Linked DNA regions of Homo sapiens: region 2 is linked to region 1. Evidence: promoter capture Hi-C in human tissues and cell types (Jung and others, 2019). All regions are on one chromosome and are shown on one strand. Each heading gives the region's core, a stretch centred on a gene start or on the middle of the fragment in contact. The rest is flanking DNA. Distances are from core to core; before and after follow the strand shown. Region 1 holds the start of OR10X1 (olfactory receptor family 10 subfamily X member 1). Region 2 overlaps SPTA1 (spectrin alpha, erythrocytic 1).

What was found. The method cuts DNA at HindIII sites, captures the fragments that hold promoters and counts their contacts. A contact is called where the count stands out against the background at its distance.
Region 2: a contact is called between a fragment that was not itself captured here and the fragment with the promoter of OR10X1 in region 1, in 3 of the 25 tissues and cell types used here (adrenal gland, heart left ventricle and psoas muscle).

The regions. Positions count from the first base shown.
Region 1 is chr1:158,577,456-158,583,037 of GRCh38, forward strand. OR10X1 (olfactory receptor family 10 subfamily X member 1) reads right to left here and starts at 2,444. Exons shown (of 1, transcript NM_001004477.1): 1 at 1,464-2,444. The coding sequence starts at 2,444. The coding sequence ends at 1,464. The HindIII fragment of the contact is 15,386 bases long and covers 1-5,110 here.
Region 2 is chr1:158,627,704-158,634,224 of GRCh38, forward strand. It overlaps SPTA1 (spectrin alpha, erythrocytic 1), which reads right to left. Exons shown (of 52, transcript NM_003126.4): 40 at 1-20. Among named protein-coding and RNA genes, the nearest start is that of OR10Z1, 26 kb to the left of the region's middle. The HindIII fragment of the contact is 6,302 bases long and covers 1-4,401 here.

The DNA.
Region 1 (5,582 bases), core at 1,194-3,693:
ACATACAGTTTAAACAGTCTTTTCTATCTCAAGTTGGTGAAGATATCTTCTTCATTACCTTTTAAAGTTTTATTGCTTCACTTTTCAAATTTAGTTTTCGATTTCCAGAAATTGATTTTTTTTTTCAGATTTTGTTTTTCTCATATGGATATGCTATTTTCCTAGCACCAGTTATATTGAAAGTCTATCATTTTCTCACTGTACTGAAATGCTTTACTTGTCATAAAGCAAGTGCCCATATGGGTATGAGTCTTTGGGTATTTTCAGCTTCCATTTACTCACTTATTTCTGGCAACTAGCAATCCCCGCCACAGTCACTATATCAGGCACAAGCAGGCTAATTGGTCCAAATTTAGGTTCAGGATCTTGAGTCTAGACTTGACGTAACATCCTCTGCATCCATAATAAGGGAGTAAATAGTATTTATTTTTGAGACTTTTAGCTTCCCTAGATTGAATAACCAATTGTCGGGAGTGGAACCAAAGCAAAAGAAAATGCTTGCCACTAAGGAATGGCTGCAGATTGAAGGTAGCAGAGATTTTTGTCTGCACCTGTATCATGAAAATAATCCCAAAGAAAGAGTGTCATGGTCAGGGGTAAACTTAATCAGTTAATGTGCATAATAAATTTATCCACTATTTCATTTATTTCATAACATTCCCATAAGTAACAGAACTCAAAATTACATCAATACTCTTACATCTCTTATCAGAAATGATTTGTCTCATGGGAGGTGCATTTCAGTGCTTCATAACATTTGCCTAAAAAAAATCCTTAACTTTTACGTCTATTATTATTATTATTATTATTATTATTATTATTATTATTATTTGAGATGGAGTTTTGCTCTTGTCACCTGGGCTGGAGTGCAATGGCATGGTCTCTGCTCACTCTGCCTCCTGGGTTCAAGCTATTCTCCTGCCTCAGCCTCCCGAGTAGCTGGGATTACAGGCACCCACCACCATGCCCAGCTAATTTTTGTATTTTTAGTAGAGATGGGGTTTTACCATGTTGGCCAGGCCGGTCTCAAACCCCTGGCCTCAAGTGATCTGCCCACCTCGGCCTCCCAAAGTGCTGGGATTACAAGCCTGAGCCATGGTTGACATCTTTAGATATTTAAAACATCACTCAGTGCAGTGGATTTATATGCTGTTTTTTCCTTCCACACTTTTTACTCAATTCATGAATACTGCAGGACACCCGGAAGTTGATTATCAGAATCTTTTATCTGCAGGGACATTCTTCTTCTGATACTGGATAGTAGAAGGGTTGGACAGCTTCTCTAACAAGCTAAGTAGATGCCTGTGGCTACTTAGTTCCCAGTCTGTGTCACTTGCTTCTTACATCCCAACCTCTGGAACAAGGCAAATGGTACAAGTTTCTCCAGGGGTCACAGGATAAATGCCCCTATTGAATTCTGGGGACATTGAGCCCTTCTTCAAACAAGCAGCAACAACCCAAGATTATTTTTTCAAGGCAACTGTGTTTCCCATCATTCTTCTAAAAGCATTTTTCATGTCCTTATTCCTCAGGCTGAATATGATGGGGCTGAGGAAGGGGGTAATGACAGTATAAGGGACTGCTATGAGTGTGTCATCTCCTGAGGCTTCTGGCTTCAAATAAACAATAGATGCAAAACCAAAGTGGATTATAACCACGGTGAGGTGGGAGGCACAGGTGGTGAAGGCCTTCTGCTTGCCCTCAGCTGAAGGGATCCTGAGGACAGTAGAAATAATGAAGACATCAGTCAGGATGATGAGCAGAAGGGTACCCAGCAAACCAGACACTGAGATCAGTGTTATAATGAATTCTGTGTGGTTACTGTCTATACAAGACAGCCTAATAACTGCCAGCATATGGCAGAAGAAGTGTTTGACAAGGTTGGGTCTGCAGAAAGAGTCCCTGAATATCAGTGCAGTCTCTGTAAGAGAGATAAAGAAGCCTGCAGTGCAAGCAGAGGCCACAAGTTGTCCACATACAATGTTGGTCATAAGCAGTGGATATCTTAGAGGGTTACAGATGGCCAGGAAGCGGTCATATCCCATCAAAGTGAGAATGATACAGTTTGTGCCACCAAGTCCCAAGAAGAAGCACATCTGTAAGCTACAACCTGTGACTGAAATGCTTCTGTCCTTGGCCAGTAGATCTTCCAGCATCTTGGGGACGATGGTCAGCGTATAGCAGGTCTCAGAGAAGGAGAGTGCACTAAGGAAGAGATACATAGGGGTGTGGAGGGACCTGTCCACCCAAGTTAGACCCATGATGATCAGATTACCTGCAAGGGTGAGAAGGTAGAGACAAAAGAAGACCACAAAAAGAAATGTCTGTACATGTGGGTACACAGAAAAGCCAACAAGAATGAATTCCTTCAGGATTGTCTGGTTGATCTTCATCGTTTGAATGTCTGAAATTTGAAAGAAACAACAATAAACATTCAACACCATTATCTTTTGATACCATCAAAGGAAAATTGTGATGACTAAGATAAATCATCAGAATTACAATTACCAACTGCTTTTTCTTGTAGTTTAGCAAAACTATGTATATGTAGGTAATGTGTTTTTCTCATTTTTCATCCATTCATTTTTTCCTTTATTCAGCAGCTAATTAGTGATGACTTAGTATATGACATCACTATGTATATGACAAGAAGGCTTGCTCTGGCCTATTTTTAAAAGGATTTTATGAGCATGTGGTATAATATGGGAGGAAACACTCCAGTTGATGCTCAGATAAAGGAGGTTCAGATGCATTAGGTGAGCTTTATTTGGATGAGCTTCTGAACACAGAGAAAACTTTTAAGTGGCTAATAGAGTCAGGGTCCAACACAGAAACTTCCACACAATGTATGGTCTATAAATATTTACTGCGTAAATATCAAGAATTGATTTCCAAGTAATTTTAGGACAAAACTTGGACAATCACTTGCAATTGTTGGAGAAGCCCAAAGTCATTAACCCTTCTTGGAGAATATATTTAGGTCCTAGAATTTTAAAAGAAAGTTAAAAAAACATGTGTCATTATTTCTGCTCTGAGAAGAGGGAAAGAAGAAAGATAGGGTAGCCTAGGACTCTTAGGATTAATAGTAATTAATTAAATCTGTGGATGGTTTTGATAAGCAGACTATACAAGCATAGTGCAGGTGGCAATTGAGATTGTGTCTATTTTGTTAATTCCCAGCTCAGCATTCAAAGAAAATAAGTGGCATTTAATAATTGTATAAATTTTTCAATAATGCTACATCTGATTTAATCTCATAGTCCTCTGATTTCTATAGCATGTTGTTAGTCCCTATATTTAACACATTGTTTCAGCCCTGTAGTATATTGAGCTACTGTTTTCCCTGCCCCATATGTCAACATATTTAATAACTAGCATTTGTGGGGTTTATATTTTTCCAAATTATTTCAAATGTTTATTGATTTTACTCTTCACAGCATAAATATAAAGTGAATGGGACGGTTGCGAAATGGGTAGGACAAGTGTGATTACTTATTTTAGAAATAAAATTATGTCTTGGAAGTGGCATATTTGTGACTAGAAGCAAAGAGATTTGACTTGAATTGTATACTCTTTTCATTTATCAATGCTTAGTGCTTCAAGAAAGAGACCATAAGTCTTATATTTTTGTATTTTTCAGAGTAATAATATGGAGCACTTTAAGAAGGTAATAATTCCTGGTGAATGTTAGATGGATGAGTTAATCATCAAAAAAGTGCTTAGTATATAAATGATTTTTGTTTTCCTTTGTTATTCAGCACTGTATAGCATTTGATTTTTGAGCATGGAGGTTAACAGACTTTCCACTCTAATTAGGTTTTGTTTAGGCTAAGATTAAGCATTCTCATGGCAGAGTCTAACTTATCACTGACAGTCAGAAGACACAGTAGAAAAAAGGTCTGAATTATAAGTGGTTCCTAAAATAATCCACAACCCTTTGGACTCTACTTTAAAGGTCCCTTTGGTTCTTTGTCTTCTTAGACCTTACAAGTTTCTTACTCTCTGACAGTCATACATGAATCACATGACTTAATCTTTTCTTATCTCCTATCAACTCTTTCTCCATTCTGTTTCCCTTTCACTTACTGTATCTACTCTTCTTAGTGAGCAGTCATTTCCCAATAAGAAGACCATTTTTCTGTTCTCTTACCTAAGGGAATATTATAGAGGACCATGTCTATTATAACCCGGGGCTTCCTCTTGAGGCCTTTTGGTGTGAGCCTCTTTAGTAACCACATTCAGTACGAGTATCTTTGGTTTCCAAATCTACTTGCAGATGATTGTTCCACTTTTCTCTATGATCAGCTTTCTGCTACATTTCAACTGTTCAGAGGCATCTTTTTCCTTCCAGAAGTATTAGGCTTCAATAGGTTCCTTCTGCTTATTCCTAAGCCACTGCAAAAAATTCCTCCTATCAGTAGAGCACTTCATACACCAATGCTCCCAAGCACTCTTGACCCTTCACAGTAACTCTGTAAGAAAGGAAATTATGTGGATTCTACAACTAAAGGATTAAATATAGCAAAGGGTAAATATGAAATAGATTAGCAAAACAATAAGTTATTTTAGTACTTGATGGCCTTGGTACAAAACCCAAGCTTTTTCTAACATACTACCAGAAAAAAAACAGTCTGATTTTACACGTGTTCTACCTCTTCCAACACAGCCCTGGGATTTGAGGCAGGGACTAGGGGGCAGCGAGGGGGTTGGAGGAGGTGCTGTTTTTAAAGTCACCATTAAATTCATAAGCTTTTTGAAAATGCAAATAATCACCAATACAAATTCCAAGATAGGTCTTTTCTTATCTAGTCCTTACTTGACTGTGTGCTAAATATTTCCTTGGTGAATCATCAGCAGTAGAGTATAAATGTCAGAATCTCCACTTCTGGTATATTCTAAATGTGTGCGTGATTTTGTATGTGTGTGTGTGTGTGTTGTGAGGATATTATGTCCCACCCTACCTCATCTATCTCTGAAGTTGTCCCTAAATCCACCTGTGTCAAATTTAATTTGGGTTATGAATCCACTGACATATATATATGTCATATATGACATATACGTGACATATATATATACACACGCACACACACTCGCACATACACACACACACTTTCCAAAGAGAAATGGTGATATGGAAAAGATATGTAATGTTATCCCAATGACCGTTTCTTTTTGTAGTGACAATTAGTTATGAGGAGAAGAGAGTAAAACCGTCTAAAATAGTTTCCTACCTTGTTTATTTTATCAGGCTCCAAAGCCAATTAATTCACTGTCACGATTATATTCTTCCAAAAGATAATCTTCACAATATTGCTGGAAGCATACTTTTTTTCACCACTCAAAAGAGACTGAGATTGATTTAATATGAAAAACACTGGTGCTAGCTTAGTGACATTGGGAAAGCTGCTGTATCTTCTAGATTTGAATTTCTCCAGATGGGAAGTAAGAAAAAAGATCCTGAGTTTATGCAAGCTTTAATATTCTATGTCTTTAGAGTTCTGTGACATGAGTTGTGAGGTTAGGCCATATGTGATGTGATCAACCCCCACAGCCCACTAAATTACAATGGTTTAGAACCTTCC
Region 2 (6,521 bases), core at 1-2,500, 49 kb after region 1:
TCATGCTTCATTAGCAAGCTCTGCATAAATAAGTCGGTGAGAATTAAGATATCCAAAGCCGGAAAATCTATATTCACTCATATTCAGACTCACGGGTCTATTATTCCCTAGGGTTGATTCAATGAAATTGGCAGACTAGGTGAATGCCCACTTTTTCTGGAATAACTATACTCAATTGCTTTCTCAAATTCTCACTTGTCACTGAGTGCAACTTACTGGAAAAAAGAGTCAAAGATATACAAGTGACATTCTTTCTAATTTATTATGTGACTAATCTTATTTTGATTTTGGAATGAGGGTTTTGACTGGGGTCGTATATAAAGATTCCTCCATATTGAGATTTATCTAATTCAATGAAACAATGTGTCTAGCAGAAAAAAATTTAGTATCAAGAACATCCTAAACTAAGCCCTGATCCTAAAGAGAAGTTAAGGGGAACATGGAGCTGCCACTGACGATTACTCCAATAGTTCTCTGACTGCTTTCTGGAAACATGATGTCTGTGTAGCTGGCAGAATGAAAAGAGAAGTGAGGCTGAAGCATGAAGAGTGGTACTTTGTCTTCTGTTGTACCTTCCAGAGAAATATCTATAAAAGCCCATAATCACCACCACCATGACCACCCACCACTGCCACTGCTCCCACTACTGCCTTCACCTCCCTCTTGTCATAAAAGCACTCTGTCAATTTTTTTCCTATACAACATAGTAAGTCAGGTTAAAGGAAGAAAGAGAATTTCTATGACTATTATACTTTTTCAAAATCCCTATTGAAAATAAAAGGACTTTCAGTTCATGGTGTTGAGGCACTAAAATAAGATGGTTACTCATTGTAAAACAAGATGGACTACATTATATATTATGACTGTATTACATTTTATTTTTTGAAGAAACGGTAAATGAATATTGGAAAGGTGATTGACTTTGTATGACTGAAAGCCTGAATGAATCATATTTTTATATATGTATACTGCATGAAATAAAGTATCTTTAACATCTTCACCTTCGCCTTCTATTTTCAAATAATAAATTCAAAAATAAAAGAAGAAACATTAGAACTGTTGTCAAAGAAATAAAAGAGATCACAAGAAAAGATTACAAATAATTATATGCCAATAAACTAGAATATCTAGAGAAAATAGATAAATTCCTAGAAACAGACAACTTGCAAAGACCAAATCATGAAGAAAGTCCAAACAGACCTATAACTACTGTGGAGACTGAATCAGAAATAAACCTCTCAACAAAGAAAATCCCAAGACCAGATGGCTTCACTGATGAATTAAATCAAATATTTAAATAATTAATACCAATTATTCTCAAACTGTTTCAAAAAATTTAAGAGGAGGGAACATTTCTAAACACCTTCGCAAAGTCAGCATTACCCTGACACCAAAGCCAGGCGATAATTCTCTCAATAGATAGATAGATAGATGATAGATAGATAGATAGATAGATATGTCTATCAAGAGAGACAAAATATATCTCTATCTATCTATCTATCTATCTATCTATCTATCTATCTGAATATAGAGGGCCTAATATCCTTAATATTCTTATTGAATATAGATGCAAAACTCCTCAACAAAATACTAGCATGTTGAATCCAGCAGCACATTAAAATGATTATATACCACAAACAAGCAGAATTTATCCCTGGGATGCAAGGATGGTTCAACATATGCAGATCAATAAATGTGATACAACACATTGACACAAAAAAAGATAGAACTAAATCATCATCTCAATAGATTCTGAAAAAAAATGGACAGAATTCAGCACTCTTTCATGATAAAAACCATCAACAAACTAAGAACAGAGGGATATTGCTTCAACGTGATAAAGTACATGTATGAAAAGCCCACAGCTAACATCATATTTAATGGTGAAACTAAAAGCTTTTCCTTTAAGTTTATGAACAAGGCAAAGATAATCGCTCTCACTATTTCTATTTAAGATAGTACTGGAAGTCCTAGTAAAAGGCATCTAAATAAGAAAGGAAGAAGTAAAATTTTCTTTGTTTGCAAGTGACATAATCTTAAATACAGAGAACTCTGAACACTCCATAAAAAACTGTTAGAACTAGTAAACCAATCAGCAAAGTTACAGAATAAAACTCAAAACATAAAAGTCGGTTTAGAAATTGTAAACAATAAACTATCTGAAAAAGAAATTAAGAAAATAATTCCTTTTACAATCACATCAAAAATAATAAAATATATAAAAATAAATGTAACCAAGGAGGTGAAAAGCTCATACACTGAAAACTACAAAACATTGATAAAAGAAATTAAAGAAGCCACAAACAAATGGAAAAATATTCTGTGTTCATGGATTAGAAGATTTAATATTGTTAAAATGTGAATACTACCCAAAGTGATGTACAAGGTCAATGAAATCCCTATTAAAATCCCAATGACATTTTTTACAGAAATAGAAAAATCAATTCTAAAATTTATATGGAATCAGAAAAGACCACAAATAGTCAAATCAATATTGACAAAGAAGAACAAAGCTGAAGGAATCACACTTCCTGATTTTAAAATACAGTAAAAAGCTACAATAATTAAGAGTATGGTACTGGCATAAAAACAGACATAGATGAATGAAACAGAATAGAGAGTCCAGAAATAAACCCATGTATATGTAGTTAACTGGTCTTTGACAAGGGTGCCAAAAATATACAATGGAGAATAGACAGCTTCTTTAACAAATAGTGCTGGGAAAACTGCTTTTCACTTGCAGAATAATGAAATAAGACCCTTATGCCATACCCAAGAATCAACTCAAAATTGTTTAAAGACTTAAATGTAAGTCTTGAAACTATAGAACTCCTGAAAGAAAAGGTAGGGTAAAATCTTCATGATACTGGTCTTGGCAATGATTACATAAATATGACACTAAAAGCACAGGCAACAAAAAGAAAAAATAAACAAATGGGAGTATATAAAGCTAAAACTTCTGCACAGCAAAGGAAACAATCAACAGAGTGAAAAGGCAGCCCACTGAATGAGAGTTAATACTTATAAATGATTTCCCTAATAAGGGGTTAATCTCTAAAATATATAAGGAACTAATATAACTCAATACTAAAAAGTAAATAAAAAATAAAAATAAAAGTAAAAAACCCCTAATAACTTGATTTAAAAATGGGCTAAAAACAAACATGAAAAAATGTTCAATATCACTAATTATCAGGGACGTGCAAATTAAAACCACAATGAGGTATCACCTTACTCCTGAAAGAATGGCCATATTAAAAAGTCAAAAAATAATAGATATCGGTGTGGATGTGGTAAACGGGACACTCTTACACTGCTGGTGAAAATGTAAACTAGTACAACCACTATAAAAAACAGTATGGAGATTCCTTAAAGAACTACCACTCAATTCAGTAATCCCACTACTGGGTATCTACCCAAAGGAAAAGAAGTCATTTATGAAAAAGACACATGCATACTTGTGTTTATAGCAGTACAATTTGCAATTGCAAAAATAACCAACCAACTTATTGCCCAATTAATGAGTAGATAAAGAAAATGTGGTATATATACATCATGGAATAGTACTCAGCCATGAAACAAAACAAAATAATGGCGTTTGCAGCGACCTGGATGGAGTTGGGGGGCCACTCTAAGTGAAGTAACTCAGGAATGGAAAACCAAATGTCTTACGTTCTCACTTATAAATAGGAGCTAAGCTATGAGGATTAAAAGGCATTAAAATGATACAATGGACTTAGAGGACTTGAGGGAAAGGGTGGGAAAGGGGTCAGGGATAAAAGACTACATATTGGATATAGTGCACACTGCTCGGGTGATAGGTGTACCAGAAATTTAGATATCACCACTAAAGAACTTATCCATATAACCAAAACCACCTGTACCTAAAAAAGTATTGAAATAAATAAATTTAAAAATAATAAAAATGAGCTAAGAAGTTTAATAGAAATTTCCCTAAAAAGGCATGTAAATGCCCCTCAGGTATATGAAAAGATGCTTCACATTATTAACCATTAGGAAAATGCAAATTAAACCATAATGAGATATCACTTCACACCTGTCAGGATGGCTATTAACAAAACATAAAAGGCCAGTGTTAGTGAAGATATGCAGAAATTGAAGCCCTTTCACATTCTTAGTGGGAATGCAAAATGGCACAGCTGTTATGGAAAACAACATGAATATTCTTGAAACATTTAAAATAAAACTACCTATCGTCCAGCAATTCTATTTCTGGGTATTTATCCAAAAGGATAAGGAAATAATGATTTCAATAAGATATTAGCATCCATATGTTCATTGCAGCATTATTAACAATAGCCAAGATATGGACACAACCTAAATGTCCATCAACAGATGAATGAATGAAAAAAATGTGGTATATTCATTCAATAAAATACCATTTATTCTTAAAAAATAAGAAAGTTATGCAACATTTAACAACATAGATGAACCTTGAGGACATTACGCTAAGCAAAATAAGCCAGTTATAGAAAGATACATGCTACATGATTCCACCTATATGAGGTAGACAAATTTATAAAATCAAAGAGTGGAATGTTAATTACCAGAGGCTGAGAAAAAAATTGAAGTTTTACTAACCATAAGGCATAAATTACAGTCAAGCAAGATGAAAACGCTCAAGAGCATTTCTATACAGCCTACAACATTGTACCTATAGTCAACAATAATATGTTATACACGTATAAATGTATTAAGAGAGTAGATCTCATGTTCAGTGTTTTTGTCACAATAAAACAAATCAAAATGAACAAACTAACAATTCAATTAGAAAATAGAGAGACATTTCACTGAGGAAAAATACAGATGTCAAATAAACACATGACAAAAAATGTAAAACATCATTATCCATTAAGGAAATGCACATATGAGCTACAATGAGGTATCACTATATATCTATGTGAATGACTAAAATAAAAGTAGTGACAACACAGAATGCTAGCAGGGATATAGGGAAACTGCAAACTGCATCATTTATGCATTGTTGTTAAGAGTGCAAAATGATATAGCCATACAAACAGGAAAGGAATTTGGCTTTTTTTTTTTTTTTGGTCCAAAACTAAATAGGCAGTTACTATATGGTTCAGTGATTGGGGTCCTGTACATTTATCCCAGAGAAATAGACTTATGTTTGCATTAAAATCTGTGCATGAATATTTATAGTGGCTTTTCTCATAGTCATCAAAAAGTGGAAACAGCCCAGACTCCCCTCAACAGGTGAGTGGTTCGACTGTGATATTCTTATACCACGACACTGCTCAGAAATAAGAAGGGATGAACTATTGTTACACACAATAACCAGAATTAATCACCAGAGTATGGTGCTGAGTGAAAAGGTCAATCTTCAAAAGTTACATACTATATGATTTCATTTGTATAGCAGCGTGGAAATGACAAACTTATAGAAATGTAGAACAGATTAGTGGTTGCCACAGTTTGAAGAGGCAGGAAGAGGAGGTGGCTATAAAAAAGCAACAGCAGTGATCCTTGTGATGATGCTAGCCTTCTGAATCTTAACTGAATCTTGACAATGTCAATATCCCATTTATGATATACTGCTTTTCTGGATGTTTCCATTAGAGAAAACTTGGTAAAGGACATGAGATCTGTCTGTGTTATTTCTTATAACTGCATGTGAATCTATAATTCTCAAAATAAAAAGTTCTGTTTTAATGCCTGTAATCCCAGCACTTTGGGAGGCTGAGGTGGGTGGATCACGAGGTCAGGAGATCGAAACCATCCTGGCTAACATGGTGAAACCCCTTGTCTACTAAAAATACAAAAAAATTAGCCTGGCGTGGTGGCAGCCGCCTGTAGTCCCAGCTACTCGGGAGGCTGAGGCAGGAGAATGGCATGAACCCGGGAGGCAGAGCTTGCAGTGAGCCAAGATCACTCCACTGCACTCCAGGCTGGGAGACAGAGTGAGACTCTGTCTCGAAAAAAAAAAAAAAAAAGAAAAGAAAAAAGAAAAAGTTCTGTTGTAAAGAAAGGGAAGCCTTTGAGAGCATTTGATAGGAAGCCTTAAAATGCTTGAACATGTGCAGTGGGGTGCACATGCATGATCCAAAAGACTTACAAATAAGATGAGCTGATAATTTGAATTATATGTTGTATAGGTTTAAGTTATCTTTTGCAAGTCTAAGCCTTTCCTTATGTCATCACATTAAAGTGAATTAATTTCTACAAAGAGTTCTTGGTAAATTCCCAATTTTTAGGGTTACTAGGCACAGTTTCCAAAGTCCTAATACATTCTTGTTTTGTAATCACTCTCAAAAGCCGTCAAAATTTACATTAACTCAAGATCACACTGATTAATTGTTCATTTCTTTATAGAGAAACCCAATCCTGCATTTAAAAGGATGTCTATAAATTGTGGAACTATTTTGTCCAGTAAGCCCTTCTTCCTAAAATTATATTTTGTTGAAACTGCAGCCAATGTCCAGACATAAGAAGATTTTTTTCCAAATCAATGTAACATGAAAATTCAAGGGAATCCTTTC